Regions from separate parts of the Homo sapiens genome. Here all the other regions are linked to region 1. The links are contacts of gene promoters, found by promoter capture Hi-C in human tissues and cell types (Jung and others, 2019). All regions are on one chromosome and are shown on one strand. Each heading gives the region's core, a stretch centred on a gene start or on the middle of the fragment in contact. The rest is flanking DNA. Distances are from core to core; before and after follow the strand shown.

Evidence for each region. Contacts are between HindIII fragments. The study calls those that stand out against the background at their distance.
Region 2: a fragment that was not itself captured here is called in contact with the fragment with the promoter of SMARCA2 in region 1 in 1 of the 25 tissues and cell types used here (dorsolateral prefrontal cortex).
Region 3: the fragment with the promoter of VLDLR here is called in contact with the fragment with the promoter of SMARCA2 in region 1 in 1 of the 25 tissues and cell types used here (hippocampus).

Annotation. Positions count from the first base shown.
Region 1 is chr9:2,013,626-2,017,018 of GRCh38, forward strand. SMARCA2 (SWI/SNF related BAF chromatin remodeling complex subunit ATPase 2) reads left to right here and starts at 1,722. Exons shown (of 34, transcript NM_003070.5): 1 at 1,722-1,779. RefSeq lists enhancers at 1,222-1,271, 1,332-1,381, 2,168-2,724 and silencers at 1,432-1,771, 2,912-3,081, 3,382-3,393. The HindIII fragment of the contact is 11,281 bases long and covers 1-3,393 here.
Region 2 is chr9:2,639,848-2,643,240 of GRCh38, forward strand. VLDLR (very low density lipoprotein receptor) reads left to right here. Exons shown (of 19, transcript NM_003383.5): 3 at 12-134; 4 at 1,530-1,652; 5 at 3,313-3,393. Among named protein-coding and RNA genes, the nearest start is that of VLDLR-AS1, 19 kb to the left of the region's middle. The HindIII fragment of the contact is 4,170 bases long and covers 1-3,393 here.
Region 3 is chr9:2,620,083-2,623,475 of GRCh38, forward strand. It overlaps VLDLR (very low density lipoprotein receptor), which reads left to right and starts at 1,705. Exons shown (of 19, transcript NM_003383.5): 1 at 1,705-2,189. The coding sequence starts at 2,108. It overlaps VLDLR-AS1 (VLDLR antisense RNA 1), which reads right to left and starts at 2,291. Exons shown (of 4, transcript NR_015375.2): 1 at 2,018-2,291. RefSeq lists an enhancer at 1,247-1,541 and silencers at 1,420-1,499, 2,110-2,379, 2,650-2,739, 2,750-2,839. The HindIII fragment of the contact is 11,914 bases long and covers 1-3,393 here.

The DNA of each region.
Region 1 (3,393 bases), core at 472-2,971:
CTTAGAAAGCTATAGGGTGGGTGATCACCAACACTCCCAGCCATCATGAAAATGCTGCCCTAGTGGGCTCTGCTTCAGCCAGCAGTGGACCAGTGATATAAAGAATTCTTGCTTCTTAATGACTACATGGCAGTATTTGGCGTTCTTTCCATTACTTCTTGTCTTCAACTTATCCAGCCTGAAGTTTTAAGCATCCTAGAACTGCATTTCAGACCCAGTTGCTCAAATGGAGTCAATTTTGCAACAGTAAAATGGTCTTAAAATAGGATTTTACTCTAGGGGGAAGAATCCTCAACCAGATAGTCACAGTGCACTTTGAATGACTAATTTAAGCCATTACATTACGAAATAAGGGATAAATCATACTTTTCATAACACTACTGCATAGGAACAGTTTTAAGAGTCAAGCATCTACATTAATCTGAGTCTAAAATAATAGGCCCCTGATTTAAAGTCTCCTAACATTCTTTCACACTTCATAAAACTAAAAATAAAATTGTCTCACCAAACACCGACCTATTGGTCCGGCCAAAGTACTGTATTTCAAGGAAAATTGGAGCAAAGAGGTCTCAAAACCGCGACTTGCCAGCAAATTACAATTTGCAGCCTTAATTGGTCTCAAATGCGGGGTGAGAGGGAAGAGACTACGGTCTGTAGAAAATAAGAGATTTATTCCCCTTTTTAAATCAAAACCAGATTCCATGCTTCAGCCGCCCCCTAACCCGCCAGCCCCGCCCCCAGGGTTTGTTTTTCCATATTTTTGTATATATTTTAGCGAAGATGGCAGGTGAGGGAAGGTTATAGTGCTGTACCTAGTCCACGAAGTAAACAGAGAGGTTAGGGTGGGTTTACTTATTTATAAGGCGTTCAGCCTCTCAGCTGTTTCTCCCTCGTTGGCATTTGGAAGCTTGCAGTCCTTCAGGGAAGAGACAGATTTGGCAGGAACGTTCTTTGTGCCCGCCTCCCTTTTCTATTTTTTATTTTTTTACCTGGAATAGGGGGCAGATTTATAATGACAGCCTTAGGGAAGGGGGAGAAAAAGTTTCAGCCGGCACGACAATGCCCGTTTTTTCCACAGTCCACACTGTGCCACAAACAGCTTTGGTGCCACTCGGAGCCCGTCCCCCGTCCCCTCCCTCTCTCTCTGCAGGCTCGCACTGGCAGGCGGAGGCACAGTTAAATTCCAGCACCTTCTCCACATACCCCCGAACTACTACGCGCTATTACTACGGCTGCCCTCCGTTTTCGCTTCGCCTCCTCCCCTTCCGCAGTCTCCCTGGAGGAGCCCCGCGGCGCCCGAGGAAGAGGACTGCCAGGGAAGGGACAGCGGGCGCCCAGCTCCAGCAGGGCTTGGGGCTTTCTGCATCCCGCGCAGTTTCTCTGCTCCAGGCACAAACGCGGCCCGAGAGCCGGCGCCTTGCAGTCACACACGGATCCACGCATACAGTAGAGCTGTCTAGATCCACATTCTTGCACACCGCCCCCTCCTCCCCCCGCGCTCCCGGAGTCGCTGAGCTGAGCGAGTGACAGGCGCGTCCCGCCAACCCGCGCCCGGACGGGCAGGGAGGAGCGGCGCGCGGGGCCAACTGCGGCGCGTCTTCCGGCGCCCGCGGAGGAGGCGAGGGTGGGACGCTGGGCGGAGCCCGAGTTTAGGAAGAGGAGGGGACGGCTGTCATCAATGAAGTCATATTCATAATCTAGTCCTCTCTCCCTCTGTTTCTGTACTCTGGGTGACTCAGAGAGGGAAGAGATTCAGCCAGCACACTCCTCGCGAGCAAGGTAAATATAACTTACAACTCTTTTCTCCTCTTTCCCCTCCCTTCGGCCGCCCCGCTGCAGCCGCCGCTCAGACCCCTCCGGCACCACGCCGCCTTCGCCCGGGATTATCCATTATTATCCTAATTATTATTTATTGTGCATGCAAGGAGACCAAAACAAACAGGCGGGCCAACCGCCGCGACAAAAAAAAGCCCGCCTCCTCCCCGCGGGCCTCAGGTGGAATGCTCTAACGACAGCTCCCAGGCGGCGGTGGAAGAAACGAGAAAGTTTCAACCGAACCTTGCTGTTCTAATAATAACAGTAATAATTACTACTTCAAGGGGGCAAAGGAGGAAAAAAATCCCAACAAGCCACAGCCTTGATCCTGAGTGGGCAGTCAGAGGCGCTGCCAACTCAAGGTTGCAACACACACATTGGGCCAGGTTGCAATCCCCCCATCCCCTTAAAAGTGAGGCGGCGGGGAGGGGGGTGGCCGCAGGAGGGGGAAGGCCTGGGGGACAGGGGAGGAGGATGGAAACGCTACTGTTCATCCCGGGCAACCCTCCCCGGAAGAGTTGGAAGGGGAACGGGAAAGGAGGGCGGGGAGCCCAGGCTGGCGGCGGGGCGCCAACGGACGCTGTTGCCACCCGCTTCCCAGGGACTTGTTCAAAGGGCTCCGGCTGCGGAGACGTGAGCGGATCGCAGCGGGAGAAGCCTGAGCTGACGCGCGAAGGAGGTAGCGGCCACTGCCGCGGGGCCGGTGCGTGCCTGATCGGAGGTGTCACCTCCACTTTCCGCGTTTCCTCCGGCGTGGATGGGGAGGCTGATTGGTAGGCAGGCCTTTAGGCAAAGGGGCTGCCAGGGGGCTGCGCCCCGGGCGCTGCGGACGTCCCTGCCTCTGGTACCTGGCGGCAGCGCAGGCTCGGGTGTTAAAGTTCGGGATGTCCGGCCCGGGCCGCACTGCTGGAGGGAAGGGAGGAGGCCCCCAAGGAGGTCGGAGGTGCCCGCCAGCCTCCGTTACCCTGCCCTCCCTCTCCCCGGGTCCGTGTTCTTTTGCTTCGCGTCTTCCCCTTGCTTGCGCCGCGGGAGCTGCGGGCGTGGGGCGCCTGCGATCGTCCGGGTGCTAGGGGCGCGCCGGGACCCAGGAGAGCCACGGCGGCGGCTGCGGGCCCGGGAGGCCATGATCCGGATAATCCTGTCTGCCTGACTGTCACAAACAGGACCCGCGCACCACCGGGCAGCGGCGGTGTGGTTCGCCCGGGAAGGGGAAGGGCTGCGGTGGGGAGGGAATAGGGGGGTGGCGAGGGCGGGAGGCGGGGAGACCGGGTAGGAGCCTCCTCCCAACGATGACACGCACTCCTTCCTTCTCGCTCCCTGCTCAGGAGTTTGCTTTATTCCCATCCCAACCTGGTTTACCCCTTCCTTTGCTCTCCCCCTCCACCCGGCCGTCTTCCCTTCCTCCCGTTTGCGTTGCAAAACACGGCCATGCCATCTGCAAAGGTGTCGCGATGCACTTCCCTAAATAACCGGTCCGGCGCGCCAGCCCCTCGGCGCCCTCCGGCCGCAGGGCGCACACGGAGCACAGTGCTCCCGGTGCCCCGCACCAGGCCTCGCAGCCTGGGTGCAGTTACACGG
Region 2 (3,393 bases), core at 443-2,942, 630 kb after region 1:
AACGTTTGTAGTAAAGAAGACGTGTGCTGAATCTGACTTCGTGTGCAACAATGGCCAGTGTGTTCCCAGCCGATGGAAGTGTGATGGAGATCCTGACTGCGAAGATGGTTCAGATGAAAGCCCAGAACAGTGCCGTGAGTGTAACTTGCTTTGGCCTTGAACTTTGCCAAGTTGTTCGGTGTCTAACATTTCTAAGTATTGCTTAATCTCCTACTTGGTATTCATTTTTCTTTGCCTGCCTTAAAGTTTAGGTCAATTGACTCCAAGGGCAGTCAAATCATTACCAGTTTATCAGCCTCCTTTAAAGAATGTTCTCCCTGGTCCAACAAGACTGACATTCTCTTGGGTAGCTTCACTATTGAATACTTAAAACTGAAGTCAGCAGATTCAATCAAGAACTCCTTGACTAGGTGCATAGATTTCAAATGTCTGTTTATAATAACTGAGCAGATGGTACTCTGGTCCTGGAAGCTAAGTCAAGAAGTGAGGGTTCCCTATGGGCCAAGCAAAAGCTTTTAGAAGCACAGCTTATCATACTATTAAAAAGCTATTACTGAAGAGGTAAGGTAGCTAGTAATTGGGTGATATAGTGACTCCTGACACACATGTAACCTCAAGTTACTAAAATGGAGATCTTACAGCATATTCTTAAATAAGAGAAACTTCATAGGTATGCAAGTATATACCTGTGTCCTTAGGAAAAAGTCTATGAGACCATAAAGAATGATGGTTTGGGATCATATAAATTGAGATCACACGAATGTCAAGGCAAAGAAAGTCTTAGAGTTTGAGTCAGTAGAGGCCTGCACTGGTAGAAACACTAAAAAAGGACTAACATGAACACAGTTTAGGTCTAAAGTGTGATTATGAAAGAAAATCAAATAGAAAGGAAGATAAGGCTGTTACTTTCAATTTTCTAGATAAGAAGTGAGGGGAGTAATATTGGTCAAGGCAAGTGAGTTCAAGGCCTGTGAGCTAAAGACAGGTTGTGTAAAGATTCAGCCTCAACTTTTAGTGGAGAATGACCTGGTCAAGTCAAGCATTAGGGCATGCTTCTACTTTGCAAGATGTCAATCTAAAGGACATTGTGAAGGAGGCCCATAAAGGAATCTAGGCAATAGAAGATTTTGTAGGTGTTTGACCATCTGACTTTTCATGTATTTGAGATTAGATGACAATATCTAGGTGTGCCCACTTGACATCCAACAGATAAATAGTGGTCTAGGAGCAGGCCAGCCAATAAACTTCACCACGCCAAGTAAAACAAAAGCCAGAACTGAGCACGCCATGGGACCTTGAAGGAGTGACGTGGTCAAAGCTGTCACGTACACTGCCAGGTAGCATAGGTTGGCACAGCTTCTAAGGAGTGGAGCTGATGAAAGAGCTCCCCGGGCTTCAGCCAGTTAGTAGAATTTCACCAGTGTGCCAGGCTACTGAGTCACAGGTATTAGCGCTTCCAGGCAGCACAGGAGCAGCAGCTTTGCATTGATCAGTTCTGAGGCTCTTTTGAGACTGTATATCATCAACAGATATGAGAACATGCCGCATACATGAAATCAGCTGTGGCGCCCATTCTACTCAGTGTATCCCAGTGTCCTGGAGATGTGATGGTGAAAATGATTGTGACAGTGGAGAAGATGAAGAAAACTGTGGTAAGAAGATCAGTGTTGAGTGACGTAACCCAAAGACCCTTTTCCTAAAGGAAGGGTGGGCAGGGGAAACTAATCTAAGCCTGAAGACGCACTGACATTGACTCACTTTTCAGTGACTTCACTATCTGCTCAATTACTTGTCCTTCATAACTGCCCTAAAACCCTAAAAGACATTCATGTGGCAATTGACCATCGCTTGGTGTTTCTTTTAGGCAAATAGAAATAAGAAGGTAAGTCATTCAAGGCACTTATATATAGAAGTAGCTCAGGGAAGCAGCAATTGTGTGGGCTTTTGTTTTGACAGTAATTCATGTGTCTTTTGCACTTTGGCACAATAAAATTAGAAGGTGAGTAGGGTTGGCAAACACATTCATAGGTCTAAATTTGATTGGGTTATTGGAATAAATTATTTGAGTATTATACAAGCATTTCTTTGCCCATGAACTAGATTCTGGCATAACTTTCCCAGAAAAAAAAAAAAAAAAGACACAGAAGCATGAATTAACATCTTGCCTCAGATACCCAAAGAAAAGTCTACCCAACTGGTGATACCTTTGTCTCCTGTTGCAGTTCCTGTCTCTGAAAGCTAACTCTGCTTCCTATTCTTTCATGTTTCTGGTCTTGGAAAATCTTTAATAAAATGCTGCATGTTGAAGGTGAGGGCCTGGGAAAATCACTAGGTTGAACAAACAGTGCTTTGAATGTTCTTTCAAGCTACTGCCCTTTTTATAGGGCCTCTAAAACCTACAGCTCCCAAGTCTGACAAGCATGGGCCTCCTGATATGGTAGTAGTCAAGGGAGCTCAGGGCACTTACAGTTGAAACACCAGTCTTGTGTGTAGAAGTCGCCTCCTGAGGTCAATACCACTGCACCTAGTCCAATGAGTTTTAGTGTTCAATCCTAGAATTGGGTTTTCTGTATTGGTAAGCCCTGGTGCTGCCAAGTGTTTCCCTTATAAATCTAGACTTTGCTTCCCAAGAGAGTCGTGGTCTCTATTCTAATTGCCACCAAATTGTGACCTTGAAACATTTGGCAGGAATTTAAGTCAAAGTACCAATTGGCTAGTAGGACTAGCTTATCATTGTCAGCATACCTGATTGTTAAATGGTGATTATAGCCCTGGCAGTGACTTTTTCAAAATGGAAAGTGTTTAAGACTTGTTATTCCTGATCCTTATTTAAAGGACCAAAAAGAGGAACCATATATGGTGGTATGTGGTTCACCTCTTTTGGTGACAAAGTCTTAATGCTTGTTGTGAGTATTACGTTGCATGATATTCTCAACTAGTGATAAGATCTGACAAGCAGTATGTTGATTCAAGGACAACTCAATCTCTGCCTTCCAAATTGAAATCCCTTGTTACAGTTTGTTATTTATGATGGCCACTTTTAGAATCAATTGTGGTTCTCATCTCAAATTAATTTCCAGTCTTCAACTATTTTCTTGGTTCTTTATTTCTGTTCTTCTTATTTATTGTGTGCCTTCATTTTTTGTACAATGAGACTGTACAAAAGTTCTTGATTTAACTCCATTGTAGCCTTTAAGTTGGGCTAGTAAGTTAGGATTAATGAATAAAGATCAATGTATTAGATTTTGGGACAAGAATCTTGAACGGACCAATCTTGATGCATTTTCAGTGGGGCATCCTCTCTCTTAATAGGCAATATAACATGTAGTCCCGACGAGTTCACCTGCTCCAGTGGCCGCTGCATCTCCAGGAACTTTGTATGCAATGGCCAGG
Region 3 (3,393 bases), core at 455-2,954, 610 kb after region 1:
ATGCACTAAGGTTTTCCTATCACATCTCAATGCCATTAGGTGAATAACACCGGCATGCATCTTCACTACTAAATGTCATACAAACAAATTTCAGTTGTTTCACATGCAACCTGTGTGGCTGCTGCAGTTTGTATCAACTATGTAACCACAGGGTGGGCAAAATAGCATTCAAAATGAGCTATAGTGCAAGATACCATCCATACGTAGAGTTAAGCCCTTTCATGCTTAGCAGTCACAATCAGGATATCTTTGGCCCACAGAAACCTATCCTGACTGGAATTTTCCTCTCCTGTGTGTCTCCTGGATATAGTAAGTTCCTAATAAACATCTCCTCTGATTGCTAGCCTTGACAAATTTCCAGGAGAACCAGGGCAAGGAGAAGACAGTGAGGCAGTGCCCGCTGCTCTTCAGATCACCAACAGAATAGAGTCAGAATATGATATTATTGAAACCTTCCAAGTTTGAATTAAGATAAAAACAACTTTTTCAAAATACCAAAAACCTTTTATTTAAGAAAGTGAAATCGCTCGATGTGCCCTCCCACTCTGGTTAGATGCTCAACAGACCACAGCAGACAATGCACCTCAACCAGGGCTAAGTGTGCAAGAAAACTGAAGTACACAAAAAGCAAATTATAGACTCAGGTACTGTCAGGCACAAAAGAAGAACCAACCCTTTCTAGGAGTCTTGTCTTTGCTTCCTTTATTCTTTCCTCGATTCTTGTAATTGAATGTTACAAAGTATATCAAGAGGAATAAACGTATGGGGCCCCTCTCTTCCAAACAAGAAAAGGTTAAGCTTTTAATTACAGGCCCTCAAACTATCATTTTGTGCAATTAGCAATTAACTATAATCGTTGATGAGCAAATGCAAAGCTGCGCTAGCAATTTCCCTTCTCCTCATCCCAGGCTGGGTTATTTCAGTCTTGTTCTATTACAGAGGACCAGCCACAACCGCGCGCACTCTCTTTCAAACATACACACTCTCTCACTTAAAGACACATTTAGTTTTCGGCAAAACGGCATCTCAGCGTGCGATTGAGACCGGCATCCCAAACCCCACTTTTGAGCAGCCCAAACGTTTGGAGCCCCTCCGCTTCATCACTTTCTGAGTGGATAGAGGAGGCCCGAAGAAGATGCTACCTACCAGCCTCTCTCAGGGGCGCAGGAGAGGGTGGTAGAGAGATGCTTGTTGCCCCTGGAAACTGCAAGTACCCCCCAGGTGCACGCCCCGTCAGTGGGGAGGCGGTGGCAACAGCAACGATAGTTGCATCAGCGCTAACTGCTGCTGCTGCTGCGTGTTCTGCCGGAGGCTGCCGGGAGGGTACAGTAATGACTGTAGGGAGCGCACAGCCGCTGCGGCGGCAGGTTCCCTGGATCAGGAAATTAGGACAGGCACCCGGGATTGGAGGCGAGGGCGGCGCGCGAGCCAACCAGCGGTCGCCCCGGGCCCCCGTGAGCCCCAGGCGAACGCGCGGAGCAGCCGGGCCCCTAGAGCGGTCCGGGTGGCGGCGGCGGCAGCCACGACCACGACCGCGGTCACTCACGCACGCTCACACTCGCACGCTCCCCGCGCGGGCACCCGGCTGCCCGGCGCGTGCAAGAGGAGCGCGTCGAGGGAAAGGAGGGCCGAAGCCGCCGCGCTCCCGCCCGCCCGCCGCGCCTCCCGTTGACCACGCCCCCTCCGGCCCCCTCCCCGCTGCTCACCCCGCTCTCCGGCCGCCGCCGGTGCGGGTGCTCCGCTACCGGCTCCTCTCCGTTCTGTGCTCTCTTCTGCTCTCGGCTCCCCACCCCCTCTCCCTTCCCTCCTCTCCCCTTGCCTCCCCTCCTCTGCAGCGCCTGCATTATTTTCTGCCCGCAGGCTCGGCTTGCACTGCTGCTGCAGCCCGGGGAGGTGGCTGGGTGGGTGGGGAGGAGACTGTGCAAGTTGTAGGGGAGGGGGTGCCCTCTTCTTCCCCGCTCCCTTCCCCCGCCAACTCCTTCCCCTCCTTCTCCCCCTTTCCCCTCCCCGCCCCCACCTTCTTCCTCCTTTCGGAAGGACTGGTAACTTGTCGTGCGGAGCGAACGGCGGCGGCGGCGGCGGCGGCGGCACCATCCAGGCGGGCACCATGGGCACGTCCGCGCTCTGGGCGCTCTGGCTGCTGCTCGCGCTGTGCTGGGCGCCCCGGGAGAGCGGCGCCACCGGAACCGGTGAGTGAGGACGCGCCCCTCCGCCGGCGGGCGGGACCCAGCCGGGGCACCGGGAGACCCCGAGGCGTAGGTCTCCGTTTGCCCACCCGCCTCCTAGGAGGCGCCTCTCGGTTCTCCTCGCCTTCCCTCCCTCCCCTCCGTGGTGGCGCCTCTGAGCTGTCAGCGCCGAGGCTAAAGGGAGCCGGGCTTGGGGAACAGCGGGGTTCGGGGTGCCCCGACGCCTCGCCTGAACTAGTCTTCTGCCCCTCACTCCGCCTCCCCCAGAGCCGCTGCTTCGCCTCGTTTCTCGCCCTCTTGACGGGCGCCGAGGTGCGTGGGCTTCTGAGCATTGAACAATGGTTCTGCCTCCTCTGCCAGGCGCAGTGTTGGGAAGGAGGCAGAGGGCCAAGACGTGTGCGGCAGCCTCGGGCGCACCCTCGAACCCCGGGGAGTGCGGGAGCGGACGGGGGGAGAAGGTGAGCGCCTCCGGGGACGCGGAGCGCCAGGGGCCGGCCGGGCTTCAGAGTCTTCCGGCGGCCGCGAGCTGGCGCACGTTCGGTGGGCGGCGGCCGGGAGGCTCCGCGGAGCCGAGGGCACCCGGACTGCGACTCCCCCGGCGCGGGGCCGCCTCTCCGGCGTGCGGGGTAGGGGAGCGGCGGGGCTTTACGCAGGACTCTGCTCTGGGCGCTTCTCCTCTCCCTTTTCCCCGCCTCGGGCGGCGTTTGGAAACCGCTCGGGTCTCCCGTGTAGCTGAACGCGGAGGGGGAGTGGAGGGGAGACTTAATCAGGTTAGTTTGCTGACCCTCCTTCCCGGTGACGTTTCCTCGAGAGGAATTGAGTCCTAGGCTAGTGACTGTAATTAGCCTTCATTCTACACAATAGCTCAAAGGAGCAGCGCGAGAGCGAGCGTGTGGCCCTGTCTTGTTGGGAAGGGCGGCGGTGACTACTGTCGGGTCCCCAGACTCTGCCGCGGGGGCCTGGGGGCCCCGCCTGGTCGTCAGCCACGTTCCCACTTGGGGCCTCGTAACTTTCCTGGACAGGCGACAGGAAGCCTTTCTGAGAGGACTCAGTCGGAATCCTAGCGCGTCCCCGAAGTGATCTTCAGATGTGACGCCGAGGGGCTTGCTTGCCAGCTGCAGGGAATTGGGACTGAAAGCCGCCCAGGCCCTTAACACCCGTTCCAGAGTCCCTGGCTCCCGTCGCCGGGTGGCTTCAGGGGCCCTGC